Regions from separate parts of the Homo sapiens genome. Here regions 1 and 3 are each linked to region 2. The links are contacts of gene promoters, found by promoter capture Hi-C in blood cells and fetal thymus (Javierre and others, 2016). All regions are on one chromosome and are shown on one strand. The core of a region is centred on a gene start or on the middle of the fragment in contact, and the rest is flanking DNA. Distances in the headings are between cores, read along the strand shown. Region 1 has its middle 47 kb from the start of VSTM5. Region 2 holds the start of IZUMO1R (IZUMO1 receptor, JUNO). Region 3 has its middle 73 kb from the start of VSTM5.

The links. The method cuts DNA at HindIII sites, captures the fragments that hold promoters and counts their contacts. A CHiCAGO score of 5 or more calls a contact.
Region 1: a contact is called between a fragment that was not itself captured here and the fragment with the promoter of IZUMO1R in region 2, in 1 of 17 cell types (erythroblasts). The highest score is 6.5, in erythroblasts.
Region 3: a contact is called between a fragment that was not itself captured here and the fragment with the promoter of IZUMO1R in region 2, in 2 of 17 cell types (endothelial precursors and M1 macrophages). The highest score is 6.7, in endothelial precursors.

What each region holds. Positions count from the first base shown.
Region 1 is chr11:93,895,760-93,899,733 of GRCh38, reverse strand. It overlaps the pseudogene LOC101060084. Among named protein-coding and RNA genes, the nearest start is that of VSTM5, 47 kb to the right of the region's middle. The HindIII fragment of the contact is 3,803 bases long and covers 426-3,974 here.
Region 2 is chr11:94,301,875-94,305,928 of GRCh38, reverse strand. It overlaps IZUMO1R (IZUMO1 receptor, JUNO), which reads right to left and starts at 1,349. Exons shown (of 5, transcript NM_001199206.4): 1 at 1,050-1,349; 2 at 155-298. The coding sequence starts at 292. The HindIII fragment of the contact is 9,583 bases long and covers 1-4,054 here.
Region 3 is chr11:93,921,066-93,925,179 of GRCh38, reverse strand. It overlaps the pseudogene LOC101060084. Among named protein-coding and RNA genes, the nearest start is that of VSTM5, 73 kb to the right of the region's middle. The HindIII fragment of the contact is 2,695 bases long and covers 1,421-4,114 here.

The DNA.
Region 1 (3,974 bases), core at 1,078-3,577, 410 kb after region 2:
AGACAATTTGACTTTCTCTGTTCCTATTTGAATACCCTTTATTTCTTTCTCTTGCCTGATTGCCCTGGCCAGAACTTCCAATACAATGTTGAATAGGAGTGGTGAGAGAGGGCATCCTTGTCTTGTGGCGATTTTCAAAGGGAATGCTTCCAGCTTTTGCCCATTCAGTATGATATTGGCTGTGGGTTTGTCATAAATAGCTCTTTTTATTTCCAGATATGTTCCATCGATACCTAGTTTATTGAGAGTTTTTAGCATGAAGGGGTGTTGAATTTTATCGAAGGCCTTTTCTGCATCTATTGAGATAATCATGTGGTTTTTCTCATTAGTTCTGTTTGTGTGATGGATTACGATTATTGATTTGTGTATGCTGAACCAGCCTTGCATCCCAGGGATAAAGCCAACTTGATCATGGGGCATAAGCTTTTTGATGTGCTGCTGGATTCAGTTTGCCAATATTTTATTGAGGATTTCCACATTGATGTTCATCAGGGATATTGGCCTGAAATTTTTGTTGTTGTTGTTGTGTCTCTGCCAGATTTTGGTATCAGGATGATGCTGGCCTCATAAAATGAGTTAGGAAGGAGTCTCTCTTTTTCCATTGTTTGGAATGGTTTCAGAAGGAATGGTACCAGCTCTTGTTTGTAACTCTGGTAGAATTTGACTGTGAATCCATCTGATCCTGGGCTTTTTTTTTTTTTTTTTTTTTGGTTGGTAGGCTATTAATTACTGCCTCAATTTCAGAACTTGTTACTGGTCTATTCAGGGATTTGACTTCTTCCTGGTTTAGTTTTGGGAGGGTATATGTGTCCAGGAATTTATCCATGTCTTCTAGATTTTCTAGTTTATTTGCAGAGAGGTGTTTATAGTATTCTCTGATAAAACAGACTTTAAACCAACAAAGATCAAAAAAGACAAAGAAGGGTAATACATAATGATAAAGGGATCAATGCAACAAGAAGAGCTAACTATCCTAAATATATATGCACCCAATACAGGAACACTCATATTCATGAAGCAAGTTCTTAAAGAACCACAAAGAGACTTACACTCCCACACAATAATAGTGGGAGACTTTAACACCCCACTGTCCATATTAGACAGATCAATGAGACAGAAAATTAACAAGGATATTCAGGACTTGAACTCAGCTCTGGACCAAGCGAACTAATAGACATATACATAAGTCTCCACTCCAAATCAACAGAATATACATTCTTCTCAGTACCACATCGCACTTATTCTAAAATCGACCACATAATTGGAAGTAAAACACTCCTCAGTAAATGCAAAAGAACAGAAATCATAACAAACAGTCTCTCAGACCACAGTGCAATCAAATTAGAACTCAGGATTAAGAAACTCACTCAAAATTGCACAACTACATGGAAACTGAACAACCTGCTCCTGAATGACTACTGGGTAAATAATGAAATTAAGGCACAAATAAATAAGTTATTTGAAACCAATGAGAACAAAGGCACAATGTACCAGAATCCCTGGGACACAGCTAAAGCAGTGTGTAGAGGGAAATGTATAGCACTAAATGCCCATCGGAGAAAGCAGGAAAGATCTAAAATCAACACCTTAACATCACAACTAGAAGAACTAGAGAAGCAAGAGCAAACAAATTCAAAAGCTAGCAGAAGACAAGAAATAACTAAGATCAGAGCAGAACTGAAGGAGATAGAGACAAGAAAACCCCTTCAAATAAATCAATGAATGCAGGAGGTGGTTTTTTGTAAAGATTAACAAAATAGACCGCTAGCAAGACTAATAAAGAAAGAATCAAATAGACACAATAAAAAACTATAAAGGGAATATCACCACTGATCCCAGAGAAATACAAACTACCAGCAGCTGCTATTTGAATCTGATGGTAGGGATAGAAGAGGTGAGAGGAGCTCCATGTCCCTTCCCTGAGACACTATTTCCCTTTTGATATAGGCTGAAACCTTGAGTCAGAAGAGTAAGGGGCTAATGGTGGAATTTCAGATATGAGTGAGTGACAGGTGACTGAAGAGCTATGAAACAGATTTTTTTTTTTTTTCACATGAAGTTTCACTCTTGTCACCCAGACTGAAGTGCAGTGGCATGATCTCAGCTCGCTGCAACTTCCACCTCCCGGGCTCAAGCGATTCTCCTGCCTCGGCCTCCCAGGTAGCTGGGATTACAGGCACCTGCCACTACACCCGGCTAATTTTTCTGTTTTAGTAGGGATGGGGTTTCACCATGTTGGCCAGGCTGGTCTCGAACTCCTGACCTCAAATGATCCACCTGCCTGGCCTCCCAAAGTGCTGGGATTACAGGTGTGAGCCACCACGTCCAGCCAGCAGATTCTTATTCTTCCAGCTCAGGACCTTCATCCAGGCCTCACCTTCCCAGTGTCTGCTCAGAAACTCCTCACACCTCAAGTTCCCTCCGTTTTGACCCACTTAGCTTTCATCTTAACCTGATTTTCATATAATAGAACCTAGGACTTAATAACCCTGGGCATGGACCTGTCCCAGAAACCCACCAGGTCCTGCCTCCTCTTGTTCCCAGAATCCTCTCCATGTCCTTCTGTGGGTACTGCATGTCCACAACCCTGACCCACCCAGGTATGCTCTGATCCCCCCACACAGGCCATGGGGGGCGCTGACACACAGACACAGGGACAGCATAACATGAGAAATCAGAACTGCCAGCCTGTTGGTGAGCCCTCCTGCCACTGTGCCCTGCAAAGCTCTTCTTTAGGGATCAAGCAGGGCCCCTTCCCATCAGGTACAGGTGATTTATCAGAGGGATTGCCTCCCCAGGTGTGTTTAGTCTGAATCCTTACTCTGAGCCTGAGATACTATTAACTGGCTTGTGAGGAAGAATGGCTTTTGAGGAAGAAATATCAGTTATAGGAACTAAGAAGCTGTGTTGGCCGGGCGCGGTGGCTCATGCTTGTAATCCCAGCAACTGGGAGGCTGAGACAGGCAGACCATTTGAGGTCAGCAGTTTGAGACCAGCCTGGCCAAAATGGCAAAACCCCATCTCTACTAAAAATCCAAAAAAAAATTTAGTTGGGCATGGTGATGTGTGCCTATAATCCTAGCTACTCAGGAGGCTGAGGCAAGAGAATCCCTTGAACCCTGGAGGCAGAAGTTGCAGTAAGCCGAGATTGCGCCACTGCACTCCAGCCTAGGTGACAGAGCGGGACTCCATCTCAAAAACAACAACAACAACAAAAGCTGCATTATCTCAGTACAACTTAGCACAGCATGAGAACATTGACCCCACTTCATCCAGTAGGTTGGTTATTCAATTAACAGCTGTCTCTCCTAGTAGACCTTGTTAGTTGTACTCACTGTTGTATTCCCAGAACCTATCACATAGCAGTGATTAATAAATGTTTGAAGAATGGGTGAATAAATGAACAAATAAATGGAAGACCAGACAGGGGTAGGATTCATGTTGACTACAATCTAAGATACCTCTTCCAGGATCACGGGGAGGGAAACAGAGGACAAATGGGAGTATGGAGTGGTCCAAAGGTGCACTTAGAAAGCTGAGGGAGACTCCACAAGGCGCTTTCCACTTGAAACGTGAATTGGGGCTCAGAGAGTAGAGAGTCACCTCCTGAAACAGCGGGGTGGGATGAGCAAAGAGGGAGGAGGGAGGATTGAGAAGTGAAGGTTTAAAACAACTACTGCAGGTAATGGGACTAGATGCCAACTGGACTCATGGAGAAATTGCTGAGCAGCAGGGTGGCTCTGAAGTTTTAACTCTAATGCTGGGGCCGGCAGACACCATCAACCAAGAAAGGGAATGGAGGAGGAGGAAACTTAATTCAGGGAAGAGTTTATGGGGGTCAGGCTTCCAGATAGAGCTAGCTGTCTCAGTTCAACCAGAATTTATCAATTCTTGTATGGAGTACAAAGTAAAATAGGAGAGCTCTGCCCTAGAGGAGCTAGAAAATGCTCCTCAAATCTGAGGGAATCATAAAT
Region 2 (4,054 bases), core at 100-2,599:
CAAAAAGGCATAGTCTCTTTCCATCTAGTTGCCTTTGCTTAACTCCTAACCCCAGGAACCAAATGATCAGGGTTGATGAGGTTCGGAGACCATCTTGGCATTTGTGTCCCTTCCCTGATCTTCCCCATCCCATACCCAGGTCTGGCCTCTGTACCTCCTCATAGAGCTTGTCTTCTGGGCTGGGCACTCTCTTGTGGTGTTTGGCATTCATGCAGATGTTGAGCAGCTCGTCCCCAGCCCAGGTGGGCATGACTGTCCACAGCTCTAGCAGGAGCGGCCACCAGCATGCCATGGCCTGCTACAGAGAGACCCATGCTGCACACTTGATGGAAATGACACCCCACTCCACCCCCTTCATCATAGCAGGCACTGGGAAAGGGGGATGGGCTTCAATCTCCCTCAAATAATTGCAACACTCTGGCTGCTCCTAGGACCTTCTTTTGGAGGCAGCATCACAGAATGTCAGGGCAGGTAGAATAATCCTTGGAGGCCTGACACAGTGCTGGAGGCCTTGCTGGCCCTGCAGAGCCAGGGGCATGCCGAGGCATGAGTCAGATAGGAGGAGCCTTCTACATCCAAAGCCTGATCCCCATCACAGGAATGAGGAGGAGGGCCCTTCCTATTTCCAACTCTGTTCTGGGTAGTAGTGGTAATGAGAGGTAGTGGAAAGAGAGACAAAACAAAGCAAAAGGCAGAGGGGCCCCAGGCCTCAAGCACCCAACCTCTTAGGACACAGGGCCCCTCACCTTCATAGCCCAGGAGCCCATGGCTCCCCCAGTCCCCCAAGTCTGGCAGGAGCCTGACCTGGACCCATCATGGTGAAACTGGAAACTTCTAGCCTACCCTGGTCTAAGAGCCTCAAACATCCTGGGGAAGAAGAGCCCAGCCCCCCTCTTCAGAGCCCAACCTCAAGTCCAAATCTAAGGCTGTTCTCTCTCCAGACAACCAGTTTCAAGCTCAGCCATGGCCTTGAATATTTTTAAAGAATCAGATCTGTTAGGTAAAAGGAGGAAAGATGCTGCCCCTTCCAGCACTCTCTTCATACTCACTTTCAAGGCAGGAGCCTTCAGGTGCTCCTGCTCCCTCCTCCCCCTGAGACTATGAGGCTGAGGGGAGTTCCATGTCCCGCCCATTTATTACCCAGTCTGATTTCTACTAGGTCCAGGTGCAGGAGGAGAACTCCACGTGGCTCTCATTAAACAGCATCTGTCTCACCCAGCTCTGCAGGCCTGTGGGTTCCGAGGAAGTTTGCTTCCTCAGAGAAACAGACCCCATCGTAGGCAAGATCCGGGGCTCTACAATAAGTTACCGGGTTCGGCTGTCAGCTCTGCTACTTACTAGCTGGCTGCCCTGGAGAAAATGACTCAAATTCTCTGTCAGTTTCTCTCTCTGTAAAGGAAGTTTTTATTATGGGATTGGAAAAATAAAGAGAAAGTTCATGAACAAAAACCTTGGCATTGTGCCTGGGATAGAGGAAGTCTTAATGGTTTTAAATTTTATTCTTTTATCCTCTCTCCACACGCCCCTCCTATGTTCTGTTCCGTAGCTCTACCTGCCCCTTCACTGTTAGCCAAGCATCAGCTCAGTCACCTGGTGGCTTTTCTGACAGTGTCCTCGCACAGCCCACAGGAACTATGGTCCCTGCTGGAGCACAGACCGAGGACACAGGATGCAGAGATGAAGTGTGGCCTTGGGGACCCAAGAATTTAAACATACAAACAAAGCCAAAGCAAACAAAACAAAGAAAGTCCCTCCATAACCCGCCAAGCAGCCTCCCTTAGCATACAGGAATCGTTGTCCTGTGAAATATTCTACAAGTGTTCTCAGCAGTGATCATATTTGCAAGACTATCCTTTTCAGCTAAGGAGAGATTGGAAACTTGGATAGGATTCTTGGGAGAGTCCCAAAGATGATAAAAATGCTGGAAAAGGAGCATATTTCTTTGTTTTTATAATATGTCCTCTCTTTCTCTCTCTGAAAGAGAAGTAGCTGAAATCACTGAAGTTTTATTGATACAAAGGAAATGAAAACAAAACACTAAAAGCGTTTTTTTAATGGAATAAAATACATTCTGTGGTGTTCAGCTACAACTGATGTGTAAAGCATATACTAATGTTGGAAAATGACATTCTCCACACCTGGGTAATCACAGCCACTGAATGCTGAGCACAAACAAGGAGCCAGGCACTGGCCTGGTACTGTCTACAGGATCTGAGGTCTCAAAAAGACCTCCAATATGAACACCCTCCTTGTTTTAGCTGTGGGGAACTGAGGCTCAGCGGTGAGTAGCAGAGCTGGGATATAATTTCAGGTATTCTCGACTCCCTATCTAATGCTTAAGGACCAGGTGAGGGAGAAACCTCCGGGACTAAAAGAGTAGATACTGCCTGGGTGCCTGGGTCTCAAGTGAGGTCTGCTTTTTTTTTTTTTTTAACGTTAAATGCCATAATGAGGTTGTGCATGTATTGGGAGGCGTGTGTTGGCTTTATTCTAGAACAGTGACAGTTATTAACCCAGTCTCCCATGTCCCCACGTTAAGCAGAGCCTGGAGTCTCCTCCTTAGGGTCAGATACCAAATGGTAATAGCATCTCTATAGCCTGACAGAGGGAGAAGCAGGCTGTCATGTTCTGTTCAGTTCCTCATGAATATTCAGGAAGCTCCAAGCATTGATAAGGTAAGAGATTTGGGGTTTAAGGTTCAGTTTAAAATGGCTGTGGAGGTGCCAGAGCCGAGAATCCAGACATGAATCACAAGAGTAATTATTGAAATGGAAATAGGTCCTCTGACAACTGTCCTTCATAGGGTGTGAAGAAGGACGAAGGGCGGCTTGCTTGATAACAGTCTCCAGGACAAAGCTGTAGGAAATGAGCTAAAATTGCAGCCAGCGCATATGCAGGTGGAGGGAGGGAGGGAGGGAGGGAGGAAGGAATTACCCAGTGAGTGAGGCTGCCTTTCAGAGAACCATCAGGCCGGCCAGCATCTGCTCTCGGGAGATGCAGCTTGAGACCCTTGAGCAAAGCTCATTTTTGCCTTATTGTGACTGAGCCTTCCATAGCAATCTGTTTTCTGACTGAAAGCAGATAAGTCAAAGCTGACTGTAGATGAAGCAATTTGAAGTGGCTGATTCAAGACAATTTTTATTCTAAAACACACACACACACAACAAAACCAACACTTGCGTTTCCAAAAGAAGAGGTACAGCAGCCTTCAGCGGGCTCTGAGGGAGGACAAGGAGGGCAGGGCAGTAGGTGAAGCAACCCAGCCTTGGCTCTGGTTTGGGGCCACTGGAGATGCTGGGCAGTGATGACTTCCTTCCCCTCTCCCATCCTGAGGTCACTCCCCCACTGAATTTGAGAACAGACTACGAAAGTGAAGAGCTAGAGCCAGGAGTCTCCTGGTGAGAATCTGATGTCAGAGGCCAGCCGAAGGGGACTTCAGTGATTCAGAGTTCTTACTGGGTCTCATGAATTCTTCTCACCCCAAACCTGATTGACCATCCTCATGTAAACTCTTAATTGGTTTCTGTCTAGGGAGGTAAATAGGGATATTAATTTATTCTTCACTCTATGTCTATCCAATCGCCGAAGCTGTTGATTTAACTTTCTAAATATCTCTTGAATTCACATCCCTTACTTACTGTCTGGACCATGATCGGCTCTTGCCTCAGTTACTGCAACAACCTCCTAACTAGCTCTCCCACCCTTTTCCAGAGCTTTAATCAAGTAGCAGCCATAATGATCTAATTTCTCAGAATTTTTTTAAATTTGTATAAATTTAAGGGTATAAGTGCAGTTTGGTTACATGGATATATTGCACAGTGGTGAAGTCTGTGCTTTGTACATTGTACTCATTATGTAATTTCTTATACCTCACCCCCTCCCGCCCTTCTGAGTCTCCAACATCTATTATTCCATGCTCTATGTCCATGTGTACACATTATTTAGCTTCCACTTTTAAGTGAGAAAATGCAGTATTTGACTTTTTGTTTGAGTTGTTTTACTTAAGATAGTGGCTTCAGTTCCATCCATGTTACTGCAAAAGATACGATTTCAT
Region 3 (4,114 bases), core at 1,519-4,018, 380 kb after region 2:
ACAACAGTACAGTTGAGTCTTGCTTTTTGATCCCCTCTGAAAACTTCTGTCATTAATTGACATTTGGACCATTAATGTTCAAAGTGATTATTGATATCACTGAATTAATATCTACCATATTTATACTATTTTCCATGTTGTTGCCCTTGTTTCTTGTTCTTATTTTTTCCTTTCATGCTTTTTCTGCCTTCCGTGGTTTTTGTTTTTATTTTTTTTAACCACAACTTTTTGTCCAAACCTTCAGTAGTTTTAGTTGGGTATTTTATTATTCCATTTTATGTCCTTTCCTAGTATATCAGTTATACTTTTTTTTTAGTGGTGGCCCTAAATTTACAATATACATTTCAACTAATACAAGTCCCACTTTCAAATAACACAATACTACTTCACGGGTAATGTGAATATCTTATAATAACAAAGTAATCCTAATTCCTTCCTCCTGTGCTTAGTATTATTGCTGTCATTCATTTCATTTATACATAAACCTTCATAAGAATCTACTCTCTTTATAGATGAGAGATAGGGGCCGGGCACACTGGCTCATTCCTGTAATCCCAGCACTTTGGGAGGCCAAGGCGGGTAGATCACTTGAAGCCAGGAATTCAAGACCAGCCTGGCCAACATGGTGAAACCTCATTTTTACCAAAAAATACAAAAATTAGCTGGGTGTGGTGGTGCATGCCTGTAATCTCAGCTACTCGGGAGGCTGAGGCACGAGAATCACTTGAGCCTGGAAGGCACAGGTTGTAGCAAGCTGAGATTGCACCACTGCACTCCAGCCTGGGAGACAGAGGGAGACTCTGTCTCAAAAAAAAGAAAGATAAGCAGGTATTTATAATTGAATATATTGTTGATATTATTACTTTGAATGAGCTATTATCTGTTAGAACCGCTAAGAATAAGAAAAATAAAAGATTTTACTTTAAATAGTTTTTTTCTCTGATGTGACTCCTTTCTTTATGTATATCTGAGTTTTTTACCCATATCGTTTTCCTTCCCTCTAATGAACTCCTTTAACATTTCTTATAAGGCAAGTCTACTAGAAACAAATGCCCTCAATTTTTTTGTCTGAAACATTATTTATTTCTCCTTCACTTTTGAAGTATAATTTTACAGAGTCCAGAATTCTAGGTTGGCGGGGAGTTCGTGCTCAAAACTTTAAATATTTCACTTTACTCTCTTCTTGCTTGCTTGGTTTCTGAGAAGTTGTATGTAATTCTAATCTTTGTTCCTTTATAGGTAAGTTTTTTTTTTTGCCTCTGGTTTCTTTCAGGATTCTTTATCTTTGATTTTTTGTAGTTTGAATATGATATGCCTAGGCATTGTTTTGGGGTTTTTGTTGTTGTTGTTGTTTTTTAATTGTTTGAGGTTTTTGTTTTCGTTTTGTTTTGCACTTATTCTGCTCTATGTTCTCTAAGCTTCCTAGATCTGTAGTTTGGTGTCTGGCATTAATTTTGGAATAATTCTCAATCATCATCATTCCAAATATTTCTATTCCTTTCTCTATTTTCCTTCTGGTATTTTTATTACATGTATGTCACACCTTTTGTAATTTTCCCACAGGTATTGGATATACTGGGGATTTTTTTTGTCTTTTTTCTCTTTGATTTTTAGTTTTAGTTTGATTTTCGTTTTAGATCTCTTTGATCTTCAAGCTCAGAGATTCTTTCCTTAGTTGTGTACAGTATACTAATAAGCCTATCAAAAACATTCTTCATTTCTGTTATAATGTTTTTCATCTCTAGCATTTCTCTTTGGTTCTGCTTGAAATTTCCATCTCCTTGCTTACATTGCCCATCTGTTCTTGCATGGTGTCTACTTTATCCATTAGAGCTTTTAGCATATTAACCATAGTTTTTAAATTCTGGTCTGATAATTCTGACATCTCTGCCATATCTGAGTCTGGTTTTGATGCTTGCTCTGTCTCTTCAAACTGTGTTATTTGCCTTGTAACTTTTTCCTGGTAGGCAGACATGATGTTCTGAGTAAAAGGAACTACTGTAAATAGGCCATTAGCAAGGTGGTAGTATCGTGTGGGGGAAAGGGAAGCATGCTATAGTCCTGTGACTAGGTTCAGTCATTTAGTGAGCCTGTGCCTCTGGACTATGAACTTCACACGTCTCTGCATTCCTCTCTCCCCTTTATGTGGAACAGGATGGCTAGAGTGAACTGGAGGTGGGTATTTCCCTTCTCCCACGTGGAAGGCCAGAAGCAGTTAGAGTTGGATGTTTCCCTTCCCCCAGGTCAGTAAGGCGCTGGAAAACAAAACAAAACAAAAAAAATAACAACAACAACAACAAAAACAACAGGTAAATATTTTACCTGATTAAATAGTTTCTCCTGAAGGCAGACCTTGTTAAGAAGAATGGAAGGCTCTGGTATATTTCAAATGATTCTTTTTTTTCCTCTCCCTGCTGGAAGCCAAAGGGGATTTTTCTCCCATATTCACTGAGAGAACCTGATAGAGCTCCAAGAAGCAAAACTCAAAAAAGCATGGGGGACCCTGCTAACTTGGTCCCTGGAGTTTTTATCTATCAGGCTTGTCCACACTAAGCCTCCAGCAATTGGTCAATTATGATTCAAGTTTTCCTACATTGGCAGTGGTTCCACAGAGGTTTCTGCTAGTGGGTTTCTGCTCCTATAAGTTGTGATTCTGTGTATTTGCCTGTCTGTCTCCAGTTTGGGAAGCACAATTTTCCCAGTGACCTCACTTCTCTTGTGGATCTAAGAAGAGTTAATTTTTTTTTAGTTTGCTCAGCTTTTTACTTGTTAGGATGGAGTGTGACTTCTAGGATTCTAACGTGCCAAACCAGAAATCATAAGTCTCCATGCTAGCTATTTTAACAGAGAGAATTTCATATAAAGAATGGTTAGTAGATTTGGAGGAACTGAAACAGCAAAAGGAGAACACTGAAATTTATCACAAAGGTAGCAAGTGCAGGATGTAGTTCCCATCCCTAGGACTGGGGAAACAAAGGGAAGAGGCTGGAATTATTGAAACCTAGACACTTAGAGGAGAAATTTTGTGGGGCCTAGGACCCTTCTGAGGAAGGGCACCTCTGAGAAAGAGGCACTGGCCACTGGAGCTGGTGGCCCAGGTTAGGCAGAGAGCAACATTGCTGTGAGGCTGATTCTGCAATTGTTGGGGAAACCACTAACTGGATTCAGCTGATGCCACTGAAACAAACTGGCCCTGCCAAGGTGAAGAAGCATTGCTGGGGTATCTGAGAGGCACAATAAGCCAATGAGAAGAGTCATGTTTCTTTCTCTTCCTCCAGCCTTCCTCTAGCACCCTCTACTGGCAGAGTCAACGAGTGAGCAGTTGGTAAAGGAGAAAGGTGATTTGCAGCGTCCCAGCCCCAAAGCCCAAGTATAGAAAGCTGAGAACCCAGCATTTTGAGAGGCTGAGGCGGGTGGATCACGAGGTCAGGAAATCGAGACCATCCTGGCTAACACAGTGAAACTCCGTCTCTACTAAAAATACAAAAAAATTAGCCGGGCGTGGTGGCACACGCCTGTAGTCCCAGCTACTCGGGAGGCTGAGGCATGAGAATCGCTTGAACCCAGGAGGCGGAGGTTGCAGTGAGCCGAGATTGCGCCACTGCACTCCAGCCTGGGCAACAGAGCGAGACTGTCTCAAAAAAAAAAAAAAAAGAAAAAAAAAAAAAAGAAAGAAAGCTGGGAACCAAGAGTTTAATCATTGAAGCTGGCAACCAAGAGTTTAATAATTGACACACTCAATTATTTTGAAATTACTAGAGACAATACTGAATTTATAATCTGTAATAAGCAATGCAGCATTTTAAAAAACTCTCTACTGAGCAACCTAGAGCTTCCTTTGTTTATTCTTTATGGCATCCAAATTCTGTATCTATAGGTACCCTTTTTATGCCCAGTAAATAAATCCTCCCCACAATATCCAGTAGGTGTATACTTAATCACATTCCATTACACACCCAATCATTCTGTCATCCAGTCAACCAATGTTCGATTGCTTATTCTATGCCACATGTTATTTTAGGCCCTGAGTTCTTAGCTATGTTACTTGAGAGTGACCTGAAATGGAGTTTCATCTGAGCATGACAATAAAGGAAGAGTATGGTCTTTAGAAAGC